2 separate regions of the Homo sapiens genome follow, and region 2 is linked to region 1. The links are contacts of gene promoters, found by promoter capture Hi-C in blood cells and fetal thymus (Javierre and others, 2016). All regions are on one chromosome and are shown on one strand. The core of a region is centred on a gene start or on the middle of the fragment in contact, and the rest is flanking DNA. Distances in the headings are between cores, read along the strand shown. Region 1 holds the start of PRLH (prolactin releasing hormone). Region 2 overlaps COPS8 (COP9 signalosome subunit 8).

Region 1 (7,514 bases), core at 2,919-5,418:
TTTTTTTTTTTGTTTTGAGACAGAGTTTTGCTCTTGTCACCCAGGCTGTAGTGCAGTGATGGGATCTCAGCTCACTGCAGACTCTGCCTCCTAAGTTCAAGTGATTCTCTTGCTTCAGTCCCAAGTAGCTGGCACTACAGGCGCCCGCCACCACACCTGGCTAATTTTTGCATTTTTAGTAGAGATGGGGCTTCACCAGGCTGGTCTCGAACTCCTGACCTCAAGTGATCCGCCCATCTCGGCATCCCAAAGTACTGGGATTACAGGTGTGAGCCACCGTGCCCGCCCTGTCTTGTTTCCTCTTGAGTATGTTCCCATCCCATTCTTCTGATGGGTCTGCGTTTCCCAGAGTGGCTGACTCACAGAACTATTCTTTTTAATTTTTTTAAAATTTATTCCCTGTTTAGGACTCCCACTGGCCAAATTTAGGCCAATTCGAGTGTCAAAAATTATAAAGTTCTGAAAAAAAAGAAAAAAAGAAATATCTTCTCTGGAAGAATCCAACTAATGACTGTGGAAGGAATTAGAGAATCACCATGGTGTGGGGGTGACTGGTGGTGCAGCAGCTGAGCCTGGCATGGGTAGTCAGGGGACACTGACATCTCAGGCCGCAAGCTGGCTGGGAAACAGGATTTGGCCATGGGGCCCTGGCCCCAGCACAGATTTCACATTGATCACACAGGGAAAAAACCTCTTACAATGAAGAGATCTGTCTCTACCACAGGGTCAAATAGCACTGTCAGAGAGGGAGCCCAGGATCCCATGGTCAGATATGATGCAGTGGGAAGGACACAGTTTTTGGGTCCACAGTGCGCGACCTGAATCCAGGCAAGATCCTGGATGCCCCTCTCTGATGACAGGAAGTACAGGGAACGGAAGAACAGGGACATCACCTTGGGGGAACAACTTACAAATCACACAGGTGGAGCATTTTCCAAGACGACTCATCTGGGTGCTTGAAAAATTCAACACCAGGACAACATAAAAAATTAACTGGTCGGAAATCAAAGAGAAACAACGGACTGTGAATGCAGATTGGAGCCCGGTGGGGGAAAAAGGAGACTGTCTTGCTGCATGTGGGGATTTCTGAGTACAGACTAAAAACTAGATGATATTGTGAAATTACTACAACGGTTTGTTCAGGTATGATGATTTTATGGCTATGTAGGAGACTGGCCTTATTCGTGGGAGAAGGATGCTGAAAATATGCTTCTAGTACATTCACTCTGTTCTTCAGCCACTGCCGTGGTCCAGTTCTAAGACGTTTCACCACCTCCAAAAGGGAACCCCCATATCCATTAAGCAGTCATCCCCCCACCCCTCTTCCCTATCCCCTGACAGCCATGAATCTGCTTCCATAGAATATGCAATGTCATACAACGTTTTTATATAAACAGAATCATACAACATTTGAATTCTTGTGCCTGGCTTCTTTCACTTAGCATGATGCTTCCAAGGTTCATCCGTGTTGTGGCATGTATCAGTGGTCCATTCCTTTTCCTGGCTGAGTAATATTCCATTGCATGGATAGACCACGCTGTGTTTTTCTATTCTTCTGTTGATGGGTGTTATGAAATGTTTGTGTCCCCGCCACTGCAAATTTATATGTTGAAATCCTCCCCCCATTATGGTGGTATTAGGAGATCGGGTCTTTGGGAGGAGATTAGGTCATGAAGGTGGAACCCTCATGGATGAAATTAGTGCCCTCATAAGAAGAGGCTAGAGAGCTTGCTTCCTGTTTCTGCTCTCTGCCATGTGAGGATACAACGAGAAGACGGTGTCTGTCAACCAGGAAGATGGTGTCGGATCAAGGTGTCGGATCAGCCAGCACCTTGATCTTGGACTTCCTGCCCCCAGAACTGTGAGGAGTGAGTGTTTACTGGCTGAGCCTCTGTGCCTATGCTATCTTATTAGAGCAGCCCGAACTGACTAAGGCAATGGGCATTCAGGTCATGTCCACCCTTTGGCTACTTGGAAGGGTGCTGCTGTAAACGCTGCTGTGATGTGCTGAGCACCTGCCCTCAGTTCTCCAGGGTCTACACCTGGGGCGAATTGTTGGGTCGTTTGATAACTCCGTGTTTAACTTTTTGAGGGCTGTGGCCTCTTTAAGGCCTGACCCAGCCCCTGCTGCCTTCGGAACAGACCTTGCCCCCCTTCCTGTTCCTGCAGGCTCACTCTACCCTGGCGAGGTGGCTCAGGGCTGGAGGGGCTCCCCTGTAGCTGGGGAGGTGCAGTCACCCCAACTCAGCCCCGTGTAGGTGGTCTGGGCCTTGCCACTGGCCCCTCTGAGCATGGATGGCCAAGAGGGCTGTGGTCAGGATGGGCTCCTGAGATCAGCATCTGCAGGCAGGGTCCAGCAAGAGTCCAGGCCAAGCTTTGGGTTGGAGGGAGCTGGTGAAGCCTGTTACATGGCTGGGTGGAGGATGGGCCTTGGGGAAGGGGCTTGCACTCACAGAGCACCCACCCTGTGCCGGCAGGCGTGCAGGTGCCACGCCCACGGAGCTGAGGAATGAGGTAAGCGTTGCTGTTCTGTGGCATGCAGTTGTGGAAACTGAGGCTCAGTGATTCACGGGATGAACTCAGTCTCCCAGGTGGTGCAAGTGTGCCCCCAATGCCAACCTAAGCTACACCTGAGGCAGGATGTGGAGACATCCCCGTGTGATTTGAAAGGGACGCACGTGGCGTGGGAGCAATCTAGGTTCAAGTCTCCCTGCCATGGGTCAGAAACAATCCATGATGCATCTTCCCTGAGTAAGAGGGAGGCAAGACAGACTGCAATGAGAGGACTAGCAGTTGTAGGGGTTGCGGGGTGCAGGGATGAGTAGGGGGAGCCCAGAGGACTTCTAGGACAGTTAAACGACTCTGCGTGATGCCACATCGTGTTGTTGTACATTTGTGCAAACCCACAGGACGCACAGCGTGGAGAGTGGGCTCTGACATACGCTGGTTGGGGATGGGGATGTGTCAGTGTGGGTTCCTCGACTGGGACAAAAGCACCCTCGGTGGGGGTGTTGATCATGGGGGAGGCTGTGCGGATGTGGGGGAAGGGGGTGGATGGGAACTTTCTGTACCTTCTACTCAATTTTGCTGTGAACCTAAAGCTGCTCTGAAAAATAGTCTAAATAAAAAGGACTGAAGTTGAGGGGCTGCCCAGGGCTCAGGCTGGGGGCTGTGCTACCGTCCTATGGGGACAGTGTCCTGCAGAGTATGACGCGTGGCACCTCCTGGCCTTCTGCAGTGGACAGCCTGGGCAGCCACTCAGGGCAGCTTGGGTGTGGGGGTGGCTGTGGGCTGCCGGTGACCAAGGGTAGACCCAGCGCCCCAACTCAGTGCCAAGTGCCCTCTGCCAAGTCACAAAGCCTTTTCTTCCAAAGAAGTTGCTGGGCTCTGAGGTTCTTTCTAGTCTAATGTCCCAGGAGGGAACAACTTCAGAGTCACCACCACACAGTCGTGAATGTGTAACTGAAGACCAGAGCTTTTATTAGGATTGAAGGGAAAGGAGCCCGAAGGAGAGGAGAGGGTGGGGTGGGGGAGGCTCCAGAGTGAGTTTCTTGACAAGCTGGCTGTCAGCCATCCTGGGACGACATAGCACCGCCTTCCAGGGGGAAGCAGGTCAGCCGGGGTCGCAGGCCAGGCTTGGGGACGTCCCCCAGGGTTGCCCTCCTCCGACCGAAGCGGCCCACAGGCCTGATCCCGCGACTGGCGTACCAGGCAGGATTGATGTCAGGGGCTGGAAAGGAAAGAGCTGGAGCAGACCATGGGCACGTGTCCCCAGGGTGTGCTGTGCTCCCAGAGGCAGCGGGGCAGAGTGCACAGGCAGGGCCTCTCAGCCCAGTCGCCAGGCCATGCTGGGAGCCACCCGAGGAACAGGCACCCAGAGGTTCTGGCGAGGCCATTTCTGGGCGTGGGCTGGCTTTGGGAAGCAGGAGTTCAAAAAAGCACCAAGACTGACTTCCCTTTCCTCCCGCGCACCCCGTTCCTGCCAGGTTCTCGAGCGACCAGGCTGCACTAGGTTCTGGGGTGAGGCAGGGTGGGGTAAGGGAGGCTGACAGGGGTCCAGGCACTCACTGCGGATCTCCATGGAGTGCCGATGGGTACGACTTGCAGCTCCCCGCAGGGCCAGGCCCAGCATCAGCAGGCACAGGAGCCAGGCCCTCAGCACCTTCATCCCTTGGCTCCTCCGAGGAGGCCCCGCTGGAGGGGAGATCCAAATGAGGAGGACACGGCCTGGGGGAGAAGGGGCAGGAGCAGCGTCACACAGGCATCAGGGTGCGTGTGCACGGAGCTGGGACCTTGGGTAGAGTGAGCACTGTGTGTGAGAGAGAAGTATGTGCATGAGCCTGTGTGCATGTGAGTGCACAGCTGTGTATGTATATGTGTACAAGAGGGTGTGGTGTGTGCACATGGGTGCCTGTGTGTGTGTATGTGTGCAGATATGTGTGTGTATGTGTGTAGATGTGTGTATGTGTGCAGGTGTGTGTGTATGTGTGTAGATGTGTGTGTATGTGTGCAGATGTGTGTGAGTGTATGTGTGTAGATGTGTGTATGTGTGCAGATGTGTGTATGTGTGTAGATGTGTGTGTATGTGTGTAGATGTGTCTGTGTGTATTGTGTAGATGCGTGTGTATGTGTGCAGATGTGTCTGTGTGTAGATGTGTGTATGTGTGTAGGTTTGTGTGTATGTGTGTAGATGTGTGTGTATGTGTGCAGATGTGTGTGAGTGTGTGATGTGTGTATGTGTGCAGATGTGTGTGTGTGTAGATGTGTGTGTATGTGTGTAGTGTGTCTGTGTGTATTGGGTAGATGCGTGTGTATGTGTGCAGATGTGTCTGTGTGTAGATGTGTGTATGTGTGTAGGTTTGTGTGTATGTGTGTAGATGTGTGTGTGTAGATGTGTGTATGTGTAGGTGTGTGTAGTTGTGTGTGAGTGTATGTATGTGTGTGGATGTGTGTGTAGTTGTGTGAGTATGTGTGTAGATGTGTGTGTATGTGTAGATGTGTGTGTAGCTGTGTGTGTGTGTATGTGTGTAGATGTGTGTATGTGTGTAGATATGTGTGTAGATGTGTGTGTGTCGATGTGTGTGTGAGTGTGTGTAGATGTGTATGTGTGTAGGTGTGTGAGTGTACATGTGTAGATGTGTGTGTGAGTGTATGTGTGTATGAGTGTAGGTGTGTGAGTGTATGTGTGTAGATGTGTGTATGTATGTGTGTAGATGTGTATGTGTGTAGATGTGTGTGTAGATGTGTGTGTGTACGTGTGTAGATGTGTGTGAGTGTGTGTAGATGTGTATGAGTGTAGATGTGTGTGTATGTGTGTAGATGTGTGTGTAGTTGTGTGTGAGTGTATGTATGTGTGTAGATGTGTGTGAGTGTGTAGATGTGTATGTATGTGTGTAGATGTGCGCGTGCACATAGCCACATAGATCTCCACGTGTTCCTCTGATCTGTGCTGAGGTGGGAATAAGCACAGAAACAGCAGTTAAACCTGGCTCTCTGCATGGTCCCCCACCCGCCTGTGACCCCATTCTCTCCTCTGCGCAATGAGGTGTTAAGTGAGATGCTTCTGTGCGCGTCAGCCTCTAACGGGATCGGTCACATGTACATTGATGCTCATGATCAGAAAGCCCTCAGGAGGTGTGAGCTACGCGTTATAAAGGGGGGCTGTCATGGAACAGCCTTGGGTCCGTCTGTCCGCCTGTGTTAAGGGATCAGAAGGTGCAGCAGGCCTCTGCACGGCTGTGCATGTTGCACACCCAGGACAGCAGGTTTGTGGGGAGGTGCCCAGGGAGCTGCACAGGTGGAGGCAGCCCCTTGCTCAACCTCAGACATGGTTGGGGAGCTGGGGAGTGCCAAGCCTGGACCAGGCTCAGGGGCTGGAATCCGGTGCACGGCCCCTTCCCACATTCATCTCAGCGCCTCCTAATGCCTGGTTCCAGCCTGCCAGCCCAGCCCTGCTGGGGAATGTCAGCCGACAGCTGCGTGTCGTAGAATGAGTCTGCATCCTCTGCCCTAAGTAAGCCCACTCACCCTTGCCATGACGCTAGATCCAGTCTTCTGAGGCTCCAAGGTAAGCCTGTAGCATCTGGGACCTCTTCTCACAAGGCAGGGCCACTTCCTATCGGTGATGGGAGGAGGGGGCTGCCGTGGATGACACCAGGTGCATGGAAAGCCCCTTCCACCCCACTGGAGTGGAGGTGCTGAAATGCCTAAACAGCATCCATCATGGGAGACCTGGAAACACCTGCTGCAGGCACCCCTCCTCCTTCCTCCACCTGTGGCACTTTGGGTGCCATGGGAAGATGCCCGACAGCTCCATCTTGCTCTGGGAAGGATCCCCCTGCCGACCTTGACTTTCCAGCCCCTCCCTGAGCCCCACAGAAAGTGCTCTCCATCAGAACAATTTAAAATGCCTACACCTTTCCTTTTTAGAGACCTGGAGGGGCGTCCCATGCTAGGTGGGGTGGGGGGTTCCCCAGTCTAGAGGAAATGGAGGTGCCACCTTGAAGAGTGATAAAGAGATTCATCCCAGCAGGCTGGCCGTTTGCATTTCCTCTGGCACGGGACCCACGCCACCTGAGGGGTGTCCGAGAATGCTAACGATGCTCACTTGGCTCCTGATCCCCAAAGACCTGCCTCCCTGAGAGGTGGAGACTTTGGCCGGCTGCCCCGTGGGATTTCCTGGTCAGCGGAGTTGAATGGGACGTCTTTGTCTGGAGTCTCCACCATGGACAGCGCCGGAGCCTTGGTGCCCTGGGAGGGCAGGGTGGCTTTGGATGCAAGAACCCAGGGGCCAGCCGTCTCTGCCTCTCCTGCTTAGGCCTAGCCTCAGCTGCCAGGAGAGCAGGCAGGGTCTCAACCCGACCCACACTCAGACAGCAAGGGAAGATTTTACAAAGTAGCAAAGCAGAGGGCCCAAGCTCCAGCGCCTGGATGTGCAACTCACCGTTCTCGAGTGTGGTAGAGGAGCTGTCCTGGCTACGGGTGCAGTGGAGCCGAGGAGGCGGGAGCCTCTGTTCCCCTTTTATAGCCCCCGAGAGGACGAAGCCGGCACCCCCAGGTGCCCTCCCCCAAGCCAGCCTGTCTCCCTCACAGGGCGGCATCAGGAGCGAGCCTGTGTCTCTTCTCGTTCCTTTATTGAAAAAAAAAAACACAAAACAAAACTCATCAGCGATGCGATTTGTTCCTTCCTGGGTTATATAATTTCATTTGGACCAAGTGGTTTTAAAACACATTAGCTTCTCTTCTTCGTGCTCGCCTTCGGGCAGACTGCAGTGTCAAGTGTCCGCTGGGCCTCACAGATGGGGCTCCCGGACTCCTTCCAGTCCTCTCTCCCTGCCTTTAAATCACCGCATTCACATTCAAGGGAAAGGTGAGCAGGGACAGTCACCAAAGCCCAGCACTGCGGCTTTGTATCTTTGCGATCTTCTCGGTCCTCGTTCATTCACCTGCCTGACTGTCCTACCTGCATTTGTCGTGTGCACACCATGTCTTCCTCATTCTGTAACTTCCGCGCA
Region 2 (7,514 bases), core at 2,639-5,138, 470 kb after region 1:
CCATTAATTCTCACATTTTATGTAAAGTAGCAGATCTAAACCTTTAAATATATATATATGTACATGTATATATGTATATATTTATATACTATATATATGCATATACGTATTATATATATATATATATATATATACACATATATATATATACTTATATATATAAAATTAAATTCAGGTGCTTTCAGTCTGATTCATGTGTTACACACTTCCCTTTGATTTGACTAGGTCCCCGATCCCCGCCCCAAGGCAGAATAGCATAGGTATGTAAAGATATGTAGACAGATCACTTCTATTGATCTCCGGGAACAAGAGACAGGGAACCAGGAAAAGTAAAACAAGGAATGAGGAAAAAACAATTGAAGGCTGCATTAGAGAGCTTATGACCATGGGACACCACAGCTCAATTTTTTGGGGGTTCTTTTTGAGGATCTAGGTATAGAACACATTGGAAATAGTCTGCCCTGAGACAAGGAAGAGAGTGTTTATTCACCATGTCATGTTCACAACTGCTGATGGGCTGCCCAATCAGGTTTGTGTGGGCATCCTGATAGTAGTGCCAGGGTAAGTCCCAGAGCAAATTTTAGAGATATCCAATGGATCTGAAACAGGGTGCTGTCAGGCTACACTTGTACACAGATGGCTGGCTCAGAAATAGCCAGAGCACAAAGACAGGCTGATGGATGTACTGGACATATTTCATGCTCAATCTCAATTTCTTACCCTGTGGTCTCAACAGCATTGATATATATTTCCATGATCCCTTCTTTGTTTCATTAAGGGCTGCAAGTACCGTTTTTCTAACTTTTATCTTTATTCGGTGGAATTTTCCAGCATGAGCTTTTTGACTACCCTACAGGTTCGATTTTGTTGCTTTAGAGATTGGCAGCATATCAATTTGTCCTGAGAACTGATAATAAAGGGAAGTGAAATCAAGCACTTACCCTGCCTTTCTTGTACAGTGATGAGGTTATTAAGAGTTAAAAACAGACACATATACAAATATTTCATGCTCAAACTGTCTCATTTTTACATGGCCTGTAGAAATCCCTTCAAGTTGGCTTGTATAACCCTTTGACAGAATCCCAAGTCTTTAAGAGCCTCCTTGAATCCTGGACATCTTGTACCAGATATGAACTTGTACACTTACTGCCCTGGAACTATTAGCTGTTTTGCAAATAAGTTCTGATTCCTTTTAATTGCAAATGAAAATGAAAGAACACCATCTGGGTACTAGTGGTGCTCATTGTTACTGAACTGTAATTACTCTAGACCTTTTCATGTAGACAGGAGTGGGAAATATTTACTGTTTACAAAGAAAAATAAAGCATATAATGAGGTTTCCATGTCAAATTTAAGATTACTGGGGTCTAATGTTACATGATTATTAATTTAATCTATACTTTTAATAATAAAAAAGATATCAAGATTTTGTGAAATTAATCATGAAAAACCACATTCATTAGTCTAAGATTTTTTTCTGTCCTTAGTGTATATCCCACTGACAATGTAAAATTGAAATATTGTGTTTGATCACTTGAGATTATTTTTTCTCTATGTAGTAGTTCACTGTCCTCTCCTTCCTCTTTAGGGAACTATTATATTCATTTTGTATATATCCCCCAATTGCTTAGTTTTGAAATATAAGGAAATATGTACATATATATAATTGTAATCATTCTCCTTTTGTTACCCTCAAAATAACCATATAAACTACATGTGCTTTCTATGTTCTCACTCTGGAGATCATTCCAGTTTAGTATAGAGATCTTCACTCCTTTTACACCTGCGTAGTCTACACTGCTGTTTATTCAAACAATCCCCTATTAATGAATATTTGGATTGACTCTAATCTGCTTTTAAAAAATAACCATGGATACAATTTGTACTTAATACCTGGAAGTTAAAAAAACTGGCACTGTCATTCTCTTGATCACTCTCCTGATCCTCTGACTTCTTGAATTCCCATTTCCTCAACTGTAAAACAAGGAATTTTAATATGACTTACCTATCCGGGTTAAATAAAATTGCAATTCAAAAAGTATTCCCATATATGTTAAGAAAAACTGAAATAGCCACTAAAATGCATTCAAAATAAATAAATTATATAATTATCACTACACAGATTCACCATACAACTCATTTCTACTTAAGAGATTCATATAGACACAATGACAAAATAGATTGTGTCCACAGAAAGATCGAGAGTGAAATTTCCAGAAACTATCTTAGATGAAATAATTGAAGAATTCAGTTAAATATTTATTGAACAAATGCAGAGTAAATGAACTAAGGGCTGTTATAACCTTAAGTTACAACAAACAACTTCAAATATTCAGAGGGCTGTCACACAGAGAATGAAAGACTTGCTCAGTATTTCTCCAAAGGGCAGAACTTGAGCCAAGCGATAAATATAAGCAACCAATGGGCTGCAGGATAGTTGTACAAAGTGTATCATGTATCTTCATAGCTTCTTTGCCCATATAATGCATTCCACACTTAAGTTTCTCCTTCTAAAAGGCGACAGCACAAGTTAATATGTCTCATAAATGTCTTAAATAAGTTGCATTTTCATGGCAAGCCCTCCACTGCCAGCAATGGATATACTCACACTATTGGAAAAAATCTAAAGTTAACAAACTGGTTTAGTATGGAAATGGTCTATTTGTTCCTCAGCTATGTTTCTGTATCTTACATTAGTGGCTCTCAGGAGGTGGGGGGTGAAAAGAGAGCATGTTCTCCAAAGAGGGTGAATCATAATCCCCAGTGATTCAGATACTGTGCCTGGGGACAATCTTTCTTCAAGTCCAAATGAATCATTATAATTATCAACCAATGGTACATATAAGAGTACGGCATGTGCTGGGACAGAGAAAAGACAGTTGACAAACACTATTCTACATGAAACAGGAAATCTTATTTTATGAGTCACTAGAAAACTAACTGTAATACTGACAGGCTCCATCCAGATTATTAAATACTACAAAATGAGAACTGTTTCAACAACTATTCAGCATAACGTTTATGGACAAAATGTATATAGTATATCTTATATTCTATATGTATTTTATCACATAGTAAGGAATGCTGAGGTGCTTAAGCCATCCAATAAATTGAAAATACAAACTTTACATTTCTACGTTTGTCAGTATACAGGATTCTGAAGATGAATCTTGAACTCAGAGTGATAAATCAGTTTTCAAGGAAAGCCACATAATCCGTCAGTCTGGCTAACTGCTGTTCATTGGGTATTGGGGGAACTGGAGCAGGCTCTGTATGTTAAAGAAACAAACACACTTCATGTTACATACCACAGTAACAAAGCTTTGGCCCCAACACCTACCTCCCCTAATGCCTTCAATTTTTAACAGTAAGTTAACTTTCTTAGATTTGTCCTGGTTTTAGACAAAATCTTACATCATAGAGGCTTGGACATTTTTGAAAAGCAAGCCAAGAAGTTGCAACTTTTATGAGTATGGTTTTACCTAACTGCTAGTAAAGGCATGTCTCATGTTGTTGTTACTGAAGTATTCTATGTAAAGGTTAAAGACACTTTTATCATGCAACATGTCTTTTAAAAGATCACAGCTCTTCTTGAAAACATCCTTACCCATGCAACATTAAATTCAAGAAATAGAGTGCTTCCCATGCCCCAGACATCACTGAAGAATATTAAATTGTCAACAAACCAAAAAAAAAAAAAAAAAAAAGAAAACCCACAAAGAACCTCAAGGAATTTACATTCCAACATTTAAATTACTACACGTCAGCCTGGGGACGCCTTCTGAATAACAGTACTGGTGAACAGCTCTGGCAGGCCTCCCTGACATGAGAATAAGAAGGCTCTGCAGCTGGCCCAGAGGAGGGCACCGCCTCAAGGCAAGCTCTGGGGGAGCCCAGTTTCACTCTTGTAACCAGATGTATTACTACGCATTTATGAAATTTAACCTCTGTTTACAAGGTAAGAAATAGATACACACACTCACACACACATATACATATATACTACAAAAAAGAAATTAGGAACAATGAGACATTAAAAAATGTGCATATGAAAATACATACCTGATAAGGGAATAAACTTGTTAAAGGAAACATCCAGGGCCCCTGCAACTAAATTCAAAAAAAAAATGTACAGCTCAATTTACAGAAGTCATTGTAAAGATCTTTCATAGAACATGCTATTTTCAGCACAACATGCATTTAACGGCCATTTATTTCTCAAACAGGGATAACAACTGTGCTCCATTATAATTCTTTATTATATTACTCTTCCCCCACTATCTCACTTGACTGGGATCATGTCTTCTCACTCTTTGTAACTCAAAGGGCTGAGCACATTGAGAATCCTTTACTGTATGTTCAGCAATGTCTAAACATAGGCATTCCGAGTAGGTGGAAGGAAATTTGGGCTGACGTGGATGAAGGCGGGTTTATGGAAGTGGGCATTAAGCTTGGCTCTAAAGACCTGGCAGAAAAGACACTCCTGGTCAGCAGGAGGAAGAGAAACTATCAGGCGGGAATGAGTGTGGCTCACTTCCAACAGGAAGACTGAGGGGCTGGGAATTCAGATAAAGACAATGAGGGCAGGTCATAGAAATTAAGGCCTTAAAAGGAGGGCTAGAGAAGTTAACTCTGTGAAAGTGGAAGCCACAGGAAAAGTGCCTGTATGACTTGAGTGCAAACAGAAAAGGGGGGCAGTTGAATATTTAAACATTTTTTTTTAATACAGACAACAGCTTGGATATGAAGGATAAGCTCAGTTACAAATGGCTCCATAAAAGGATGGAGATTAATATTTAGTAAAAACTAAGGTGTAAGGACCATGAAAAACCTACGTAAAATCATTTATATACAGGAAATACATTTTTAAGAGTTTAAACTAGGTGATCCTTTCTACCCCGTCTACTACGCTTTATTTAAAATGAGTTATTTCCATTGTGTTAGTATAGCCGAATTTTACATCCAATTATCAAAAACCAAAGACTGAAAACCTGAAGCAGTCTTAGAAGAGTCCAGTGCTGCGTAAATGGGTGAAAGCTCCACCTACCTGGCTTTCTGGGCAGAACCATTCTTGTGGTGGAATCAGCTTGCCATCCTTGTTCTAATATGCCTAAAAAAGTATATTACACATAAAGATCCGGAAAGAATAAAACACCCCACAAAATCCACAACTTGTCCATGACATTAGTTGTACAGAAGACCTGATGTGTTTAGTATAACCCGTCATATGCATTTTTACTAGAAAGGTATATTACAAAGAGCATGGAAACTTATTATTGAAATATTTCTGAAACAGGTATCAAAGCCTCATTTTACTCTATTAGGTTGCTATAATCATTAAAAGATGGTTAGTTTTCTGTCAAGAATATATTATAGTATTAACCTAATCAGTATTATTTAAAACAAACAGAAGGAAAACTGATATGGCGCCTTTTGTGACCATCATATCAGTAATAACAAAGATGGCAATAATAAAAACAGCTTCCATATATGGAAGGTTTACCTGTAGGTACCAGACTACGTGCTTTTATAGGGATGATTTTATGTAATCACCACAACTCTATGAAGTGGGATATAGGGCCATCGTTTGACAGGTATGGAAAATAAAGTTGAGGGAAATTCAAGTGATTTGTCCTAAGTCACATAGCCACTAGCATCAGGGACGGGTGGTACCAGCATTCACATCCAGGTGGTCAGCTGAGAATACGAGCTCTGAAGTATGTTATATATAGAAAATAAATGATGGACCAATTTTAAGAGCCAAAAGAAATAAATGTTTGTATGAGTAAATAAAAGTAATAACTTAGAACTTTCATTAACCTATCTTCATGTATCTACAACTATGCTAGGCCCTGGAAATTTAGGATGTAGTGCGTGATGGTGCTCATATTTTAGCTGGAGAATCAAAAATGTCAATCATGGCAAAACAATGCAACAAGGTGTATACGATATATATATATATTTTTGATATGGAATCTCACTGTGTTGCCCAGGCTAGAGTGCAGTGGCACAGTCTCAGCTCACTGCAACCTCCACCTCCTGGATTCATGCGATTCTCCTGCCTCAGCCTCCTGAGTAGTTGGGATTACAGGTGCCTGCCACCACACCTGGCTAATTTTTTGTATTTTTAGTAGAGACGGGCTTTCACCATGTTGGCCAGGCTGGTCTCGAACTCCTGACCTCATCATGATCCACCCGCCTCGGCCTCCCAAAGTGCTGGGATTACAGGTGTGAGCCACTGCACCTGGCCAGGTGTATACAGTATTCTATAACAACGAGCAACAGGAAGGATTAGTCTGGGCATCAGCTGAGAAATGAAAATGCAAAGTTACATTTGGAGAGACCAGCAGGTATGAGTGGGGAGCAAGCAAGCGCCTAGGGTATGGGTCAGAAATGGCAGGGAAAATGAAAAGGGACGTGGGGATGATGCTGCCTTTATCAAATAAGGGTGAAATAAGGATTTCCAAATATGAGTAAAGAGACCAATTAAGACATATTTTTGTAACCAACTGTGTGGATACTCACACATTTGCTTGCTATAGAACTATTAATATGCTTGACTGCAGGGTGCCTGCTGGGTGTTCCACAACACCTGTTTCATATCACCTCTCAAAAAACACAGCCTGGACTCCAAAAGCATATTCTGTTCCAAGTGTTTCAGAGGAGACTGTGAACCTACAATTCACACTTCTATTTTCCATTTTCCTTATAAGTAAAAAGTAAGCCAAAATTACCTTTCACAGCCTCTTCTACAGGAAGTCCAACAAAGGCTGCAAAATCATCGGCGATGATTGAAGTATACGCTTGAGAGACCAGGGCAAAGGCGCGTCTCCTTGTTGCATCTATTGTGGGAGTGGTGGGTTGGCAGAGAGTGAACCAGGGAGCAGCATTTTCAAAGCACATTGTTAAATCACACCACTGTCCTTGTCTAGTTTTCATAAGCAAGGCCAGATGAACCCAAAGATTTCTGTGCTTATAGATACAAATACATATGCCCAGTATGTACGGGGGGTTCAAATATTGCTGGAAAAAAATACATTTCTTACACTTCCTCTTGGATGAAAAATCTCAGATAATGAAAATTACAAAGATGGAAAAAGGTTACTAAACACAAGGCTCTAACCCTAAGAAAATGCAGTATGTTTATGCAATGGGGATATAAATTTTACTTATCTTATTTCATTTACAAATGCTGGAATCAAAGGAGCAGAAAACTGATTTGCGTAATCAGCTGTCCTTTTCAAAAACGTCTCTAATACAGGACCACACCTGGGAGTTACAGAACAAATCTTGTAACTGGAGCATTCTTCCAAGTCTGCATCAAACTCTTGACTGAATTAAGGTTCAAAATCCTAAATTCCCACCTTGAAAGAATGACTCTAAGAAGGGACTGCCAAACAATACCAGCAACGAAAACTTTCCTGAAAGTGGCATTTAGGATTGTCCCCAGGCTTCCATACCCAATTAAATAAACTCAGGAGTACGGTAGAGTTGAGCACTGTGAAACCAGCTGG

The links. The method cuts DNA at HindIII sites, captures the fragments that hold promoters and counts their contacts. A CHiCAGO score of 5 or more calls a contact.
Region 2: a fragment that was not itself captured here is called in contact with the fragment with the promoter of PRLH in region 1 in 1 of 17 cell types (endothelial precursors); the score reaches 6.6 in endothelial precursors.

The regions. Positions count from the first base shown.
Region 1 is chr2:237,563,228-237,570,741 of GRCh38, reverse strand. PRLH (prolactin releasing hormone) reads right to left here and starts at 4,168. Exons shown (of 2, transcript NM_015893.1): 1 at 4,069-4,168; 2 at 3,567-3,730. The coding sequence starts at 4,168. The coding sequence ends at 3,567. It also overlaps the pseudogene RNU6-1140P. RefSeq lists an enhancer at 6,819-7,319. The HindIII fragment of the contact is 5,293 bases long and covers 2,377-7,514 here.
Region 2 is chr2:237,093,418-237,100,931 of GRCh38, reverse strand. COPS8 (COP9 signalosome subunit 8) reads right to left here. Exons shown (of 8, transcript NM_006710.5): 5 at 6,735-6,842; 6 at 5,048-5,110; 7 at 4,063-4,110; 8 at 458-3,269. The coding sequence ends at 3,190. Among named protein-coding and RNA genes, the nearest start is that of COPS8, 11 kb to the right of the region's middle. The HindIII fragment of the contact is 1,129 bases long and covers 3,324-4,452 here.